Linked DNA regions of Homo sapiens: region 2 is linked to region 1. The links are contacts of gene promoters, found by promoter capture Hi-C in blood cells and fetal thymus (Javierre and others, 2016). All regions are on one chromosome and are shown on one strand. Each heading gives the region's core, a stretch centred on a gene start or on the middle of the fragment in contact. The rest is flanking DNA. Distances are from core to core; before and after follow the strand shown. Region 1 holds the start of COX7B (cytochrome c oxidase subunit 7B). Region 2 overlaps ATRX (ATRX chromatin remodeler).

Region 1 (3,496 bases), core at 71-2,570:
TTGTTTTGGGACAGGTCTCAGGCTAGAGTGCAGTGGTGCGATCTTGGCTCACTGTAACCTCCGCCTCCCCGGTTCAAGCAAGTCTCATGCCTCAGCCTCCCGAGTAGCTGGGATTAGAAGCATGTGCCACCATGCCCAGCTAATTTTTTGTATATTAGTAGAGACGGGGTTTTGCCGTGTTGCCATTTCTTTTCTTTCTTTTTTTTCTTTTCTTTTCTTTTCTTTTTTTTTTTTGAGACGGAGTCTTGCTCTGTCACCAGGCTGGAGTGCAGTGGTGGTATCTTGGCTCACTGCAACCTCCGACTCCCTGGTTCAAGCGATTCTGCCGCCTCAGTCTACAGAGTAGCTGGGATTACAGGCACATGCCACCACGCCCAGCTAATTGTTGGTATTTTTAGTAGAGATGGGGTTTCACCATGTTGGCCAGGATGGTCTCGATCTCCTGACCTCGTGATCCGCCCACCTCGGCCTCCCAAAGTGCTGGGATTACAGGCGTGAGCCACCGCGCCAGGCCTAACAGCTTTCTTTTCTTTCTTTCTTTTTGAGACGTAGTCTCGCTCTGTCGCCCAGGCTGGAGTCCAGTGGCACGTTCTCGGCTCACTGCAACCTCCGCCTCCCGGGTTCAAGTGATTATTCTGCCTCAGCCTCCTGAGTAGCTGGGATGACAGGCGCGCGCCACCACGCCGGCTAATTTTTGTATTTTTAGTAGAGACGGGGTTTCACCATCTTGGCCAGGCTGGTCTCGAACTCCGACCTCGTGATCCGCCCACCTTGGCCTCTCAAAGTGCTGGGATTACAGGCGTGAGCCACCGCGCCCGGCCAATAGCTTTCCAAAGTTATTTTATCACGTATTTATCTACATATTACAGAAGTTTTTACTGTTCTTGCAACTTTTCTCTAAACTTGACGTTATTTGAAAACTAAAAGCTAAGCCAATTAGTATAGTAGTAATAGCAGACAAAAAAAATGAGAGAAGTAAAGGAAGTTTTGGGGGAACAGAAAGAAGAAAGAGCTAGTGTGGAGATACTAAACCGAAGCTTGTGGAACTTGAACGCCATTTTGAAGCTAGTTCCTTAGACGATTCGGTCGAAGATCTGTCTCTCGGCTGCCCTCTATAGAGCTCTAAACCTGGCTTCAAGGAGTTCTTTCATTCTTCATTAGATACCACCCACCATACGTCATTTTATAAAGCCGGAAACTACATTTCCCAAAAGGCCTTTATTTTTCCTCGCGGGAAAAGGGATTGCAATTACTATAGGTTTTACAGGTATCGCGAGATTTCGTCAAATCTCATTACGGATCCCGGCTGAAAGCCATTTTGTTTTTCAGCTCACTTCAAGGGTACCTGAAGCGAATTGGCACCAAAGCAGCAGCTGTATTGCCGCAGTTCTAGCTTCACCTTCACGATGTTTCCCTTGGTCAAAAGCGCACTAAATCGTCTCCAAGGTGAGCAAAAATTATGACAAATCATTTACAACAACCTTATATCAATGTGTCCTCGCGGCCTCTCGTGTGCTTTCCTTTTACGAACATCTCGGCCTTCTAATCTTGAATGCTGTCTGTCTCCCATCTCGTCCCAAGTCATTGGGATGATGTCCTTAGCATTGGCTTTATCACCCAGTATTTCTGTTTCGGTTTCCAGCTCTCTTTCTGTTATCGGAGTGATAGTCTAGCCCTGCTTTTTAATTCTTCAGTAACCTTTGATTTCAGGGAAGGACATTCTTGGTAGACACCTCGTTCCTTAAGTGATGTCCTACATTTTAGCTTTGGGGATATGTTTACTCCTAACCCTGTATAGAAAAATATCTTCTCCAATTCCTATTACTGTAATAGACGGAAACTGTAAATCTAGCTCTTCACCTGGTTTAATTGCAGGGAAACAACCCAAATGGTATCGATGCAGCTTTGAAGTTATTTGTGGATTAACAATGTTAGCTGGCCAGGCGCGGTGGCTCACACTTGTAATCCCAGCACTTTGGGAGGCCAAGGCGGGCGGATCCCCTGAGGTCAGGAGTTCGAGACCAGCCTGGCCAACATAGTGAAACGCCGTCCCTACTAAAAATACAAAAATTAGCCGGGCGTGGTGGTGGGCGCCTGTAATCCCAGCTACTTGGGAGGCTGAGGCAAGAGAATCGCTTGTACCCGGGAGGCGGAGGTTGCAGTGAGCCAAGACTGCTACTGCACTCCAGCCTGGGCAACAAGAGCGGGACTCCGTCTCGAAAACAAAAACAAAACAATGTTAGCTGTCCTGAAGGCAATCGTGGTCATTTTTTTCTTATCCAAAGGTTGGGCAGGTACAGGGAGTTTTGAGACCAGCATTATGTAGAGAAAATGCAATAGATTGAGGAGAACAAATTAATTTTCATACTTGATTTGCACCGAAGGTGACCTTGAGTAACGTGGGCAGTTGTTACACAATGAAGGTGACCCGTAATTACTATTTAGTTTGTTTAGCCATCTTTTGATTTTCACTTAATAGAATCATTGGAGGATATTATTAGATTGTGTCCTAAACTCTTAAGCAACTTTGAAAATAACCACAAAATATTAGCTGGACTATTTTCATATTCCCAAAGTAGCATTTATTATCTCTTTTACTTTGGGCATATGATTTAGCCTCTCTCAACCTCAGTTTCCTTCTTTGTAAAATAAGTAATTTGTAAATAATGCCTACTTCATGGGGTTGTTGAGGATTATATGAGATCACCAATGTGTGGTAATTAAACAGTTGTCACAGAGGAGAGGTCTGATGAAATCCACCAGAGTTACATGAGTGTGTTGAAGTTATGAGATGTTGCAGAATTTTTTGGTAGTCTTAATTTCTTTGCTCTTTGAGCAAATAGGGCCACCTTGTACCTCAGGAAAGGTTTTTTGTTTTTTTTTCAGCGTGGAATTCACATGCCCACTTTTTATCTTTTCTGGAGCAGAATATATTATGAAATATTTGTAAATTTGCCTATCCCGGTGTGACTAAAAGATGAAAAGGGAAAGCTATGTAAGACAGTTAGAAGATCTGATAATGGTCTAATAACTATCATGAAGTAACCCATTGTACCATGTAGAAATATTCATTGCTAGTGAATGGGCAACATTGCAGTTTCTTTTTTTTTTTTTTGAGACAAAGTTTCGCTCTTGTTGCCCAGGCTGGAGTGCAGTGGCTCAATCTTGGTTCACTGCAATCTCCGTCTCCTAGGTTCAAGTGATTCTCCTGCCTCAGGCTCCCTAGCTTTTCATTATATATGTAAGTACCTTTGGAGGCTCTTTAAAACGATAAGAACCTGCCCCTTAAATTGGACAGGAAGAAAAAAAAAAACAGCTAGAAACAAGCTTTTTCCAGTCTCGGCTGTTTCCCAAGCCCTCCTTTTTAGTTCTTCCAGGGGCCGTTTGAAAACTTTTGTTCTTCTCTTTCTACTGGTATAATACTAACAGCAAACTTTATCATTCTGCTCAAAAACTAAGTCCTTAGCTAATTCTGCTTCCTTGTACGATACTGATT
Region 2 (3,621 bases), core at 755-3,254, 270 kb before region 1:
TATCTTAACTCTGGTCAGCTCTAAACACTGTTTCCAATCCTAATACATACTCCCAATTTTCCAGGCTTCTGATCTAATAGCCTACCTTATAAGTTTACAACCTCAGCTCATCCTTAAGAATCTCATACCCAAAACTGTCTGGTTCTGACATTTTGTTTCCATCTTGAACTTCAATTTAGACTTTTCTTTAACATTACACCCAAACTTCAGTCTTCACATACTCTGCTGCCATTTATATGATTCTTCACTATCACTAATTTGTTCCAAATCAGAGAAGATAAATTGGGCATAAAATGGAAAACATGTACTGGAAAATTAAGTGTTATACTGAACAGATCCCTTCTAATAAATTTAGAAGTACTGAACAGATCCTGACACTTTAGACTTAGGTGGCAAAGAAAATTATATCTAGATACTATCACTAAACCTTAAAACTTAACAACAGTTTTAATATATTCCATGTTATACATGATGGATATTAGAATATTCTTGTTGCAGATGGTTACCCAGCTATGGCAGAGGAACTATCTCTAATACTTATATATACTCTGGAAAAGAAAATAAAAGTAGAGCTTCAGTTTCCTGAAGAACATCCAGTAAAACCTAATGGAGAAACCAGCCCCTCTTAAGTTTTAACAAGGGTAATCTAGGTATTTATTTTTTTAATTATCAAAACAAACAAAAAATATAACCCAATGTAGAACTTACTCAACCTGATAAAAGACACCTATTAGAAATCCACAGCTAATGTCATACTTAATGGTGGAGAACTGAAAGCTTTCCCTGAGATCAAAAACATGACAACCAACTGCTCTGACCACTTACGTTCGACATTGTATGGAAATTTCTAAGAAGGGCAATTAGGCAAGAAAAAGAAGTTGAAGATATTCATATTGGAAAGGAAAAAGTAAAACTATTTCTACTCATAGACTATGATTTTCTTAATAGAAAACTAAATCGCGTGCGTGCGCGCGCACACACACGCGTGAGCGCACACATACAACTATTAGAACTTATAAATGGACTCAACTAAGTTGCAGGATACAGAATCAGTATACAAAAATCTGTTGTATTTCTATACACTAACAAAGAATTATCTGAAAATAAAATTAAAACAATTTTATTTCCAAAAGGCTCAAAAAGAATAAAATATTTAGGAATAAATTTAAGAAAATAAGTCCAAGACTTTTACACTAAAGAAATTAAAGGACCTAAATCAAATTTCATTATTAAAAGAAATTAAAGACCTAAATAAACGGAGAGAAATTAGATGTTCATGGAGGGGAAGATTTAATATTGTTAAGATGGCAATATTCCTCAAATTAATCTACAGATTCAATGCAATATCTAACAGAATCCCAGCTAGTTTCTTTGAGGAAATATAAAAGCCAATCATCAAATTCAAATGAAATTTCAAGGAACCTCAAATAGCAAAACAACTTTGAGACAGAAAAATAAAGCTGTAGGACTTCTTCCTGATTGCAAAACTTACCACAAAGCTACAGTAATTAAAACAATGTCACACTGGCATAAGGACAGACATATAGATCAATACAATAATATTGAGAGCCTAGAAATAAACACATACATCTATGGTCAATTGATTTTCAACAATGGTGTCAAGACTCTTCAATGAAGAAAGAATAGTCTTTTCAACAAATGGTGTTAGAACAACTGGATATCAAAATACAAAAAATGAAGTTGGACTCCCACCTCATGCCATATACAAAAATAAACTGAAAATAGATCATAAACATAAATACAAGAGCTAGAACTATAAAATAAGAAAACACAGGTGAAAAAATTCATGACCTTCGATTAAGCAATGAATACTTGGATATGCACTAAATGCAAAAGCAACACAAGAAAAAAATAGGTAAATTAAATGTAATCAAAATTTTAAAGATTAGTACTGAAAAGATGATATAAAAAAGTAAAAAGACAACTCACAGAATGGAAGGATATATTTGCAAATTATATGGGTGTGTTTACATTTGTAAATGTCAATTTTCAGTAAAAGGAACCATGATGTCTTCAAGAAATGGCTGATTCTGGGGCCAGGACAATATAACATGAACCTGGAGCATCCTGTAATGCCAGAAAGTAATAAAGTGCTCAAAGCCAAAAGGATAGGGACATATCAAAGGGTAGAGGACCTCACCTTAAAAAAAGCTCCCAATGGTCAAAGTGAAACAATTTGAGCAAAAAAAAAAAAAAAATGCAGTAATGGTTTATAGTCCAATGCACGAACTAAAAATAGATGAGTATATAATTATATAAATCAAAGGCTAAATAAATGGGTAAGAAAAGATAATTTTTTCTTTAAAAAAATCCAAATTTTATGTGTAGATATTACCCACTATAGGAGATACAGCTTAATTTCCACCATCCTCCCATTCAGGTGGGCTAGATTGAGTGACTGGATTCCAATGAACAGATGAGGGACAGGTAAAAGTAGCAGCTCTACAGGAGAGAAACCTGACAAACTCTACCCTAGCCAAGTGATGAAAGTTAACATCATCAGTAACAGCAAGTGCTTATCATGTACCCCCGATATGAGATATGATGTGACAAAAAGGGTATGTCACCTCTGGTATATTCTTTCAAAACCTCAGTCTAATCTCAGTCTAATCACAAGAAAAACTATAAATTCAGATCAGAGAACACTCTACAGGATATCTACCTGGACGGTCCTCCTTAAGACTGATGAGATAATGAAAAAATAAAGATTGAGAAACCGTCATAGACCAGAAGACTGTTAGAGACATGACAGCTAAATACAATGTAGAACCCTGGATAGAAAAACTGGTGCAATACAAATGCAGTTTGAAGTTATTAATAATAATGTGTCAATTTCTTAGTTTTGACAAATCTACCATGGCAATGTAAGATGTTAACAATTGAGGAACCAGATGTAGGGTATATGGGAACTCTCTGCACTACCTTTTCAACTTTCATGTAAACAGAAAATTATTCCAAAATGAAAAGTTTTTTTTTGTTTTTTTGTTTTTTATTTTTGAGATGGAGTCTCGCTCTGTCACCCAGATGGGAGTGCAGTGGCACAATCTTGGCTCACTGGAACCTCCAGCTCCCAGGTTTGAGCGATTCTTCTGCCTCAGCCTCCTGAGTAGCTGGGACTACAGGAGTGCACCACCATGCCCGGCCAAAAATTTTTTTTAAATGTCACTAAATGATAAAATATGGCAATGACAAATGTTACCCTTCATGTTAGAAGCTTTAATTTTTTTTTTCTTCATTTTTTTCATGAACAAATAAGTACACTAAGCACCTGAAACTGTTGTATTAAACAGTTTCAAGGAAATCTTGTGGAAAAAATCTGCTACAATGATACTAGACACTAGCTTATAATTTTTCAACAATAAACCAGCCACAAGATTTATAAACACCTATTTAATCGTGGGAAAGAGATAAACTTATTATTAGGCCTTAGATTTGTGATGGCAGTTATTTTGCTATGTATTAACTACCTCATTATCTTTAAAAAAGAGGCAAAGCCAAGGATTCTAAAGATTACTATCACTTTGACAATGACAATTACCCAGACTTTCTCAACAAAAATAAAACCTCAATAGTGTCTTAAATATGATATGACAAGATAAA

Evidence for each region. Contacts are between HindIII fragments. The CHiCAGO score rates a contact against its expected background, and 5 or more counts as called.
Region 2: a contact is called between a fragment that was not itself captured here and the fragment with the promoter of COX7B in region 1, in 1 of 17 cell types (total B cells). The highest score is 5.2, in total B cells.

The regions. Positions count from the first base shown.
Region 1 is chrX:77,898,148-77,901,643 of GRCh38, forward strand. COX7B (cytochrome c oxidase subunit 7B) reads left to right here and starts at 1,321. Exons shown (of 3, transcript NM_001866.3): 1 at 1,321-1,446. The coding sequence starts at 1,407. RefSeq lists an enhancer at 1,275-1,524. The HindIII fragment of the contact is 2,290 bases long and covers 1,036-3,325 here.
Region 2 is chrX:77,628,999-77,632,619 of GRCh38, forward strand. All of the region lies in intron 19 of ATRX (ATRX chromatin remodeler), which reads right to left. Among named protein-coding and RNA genes, the nearest start is that of ATRX, 160 kb to the right of the region's middle. The HindIII fragment of the contact is 2,458 bases long and covers 776-3,233 here.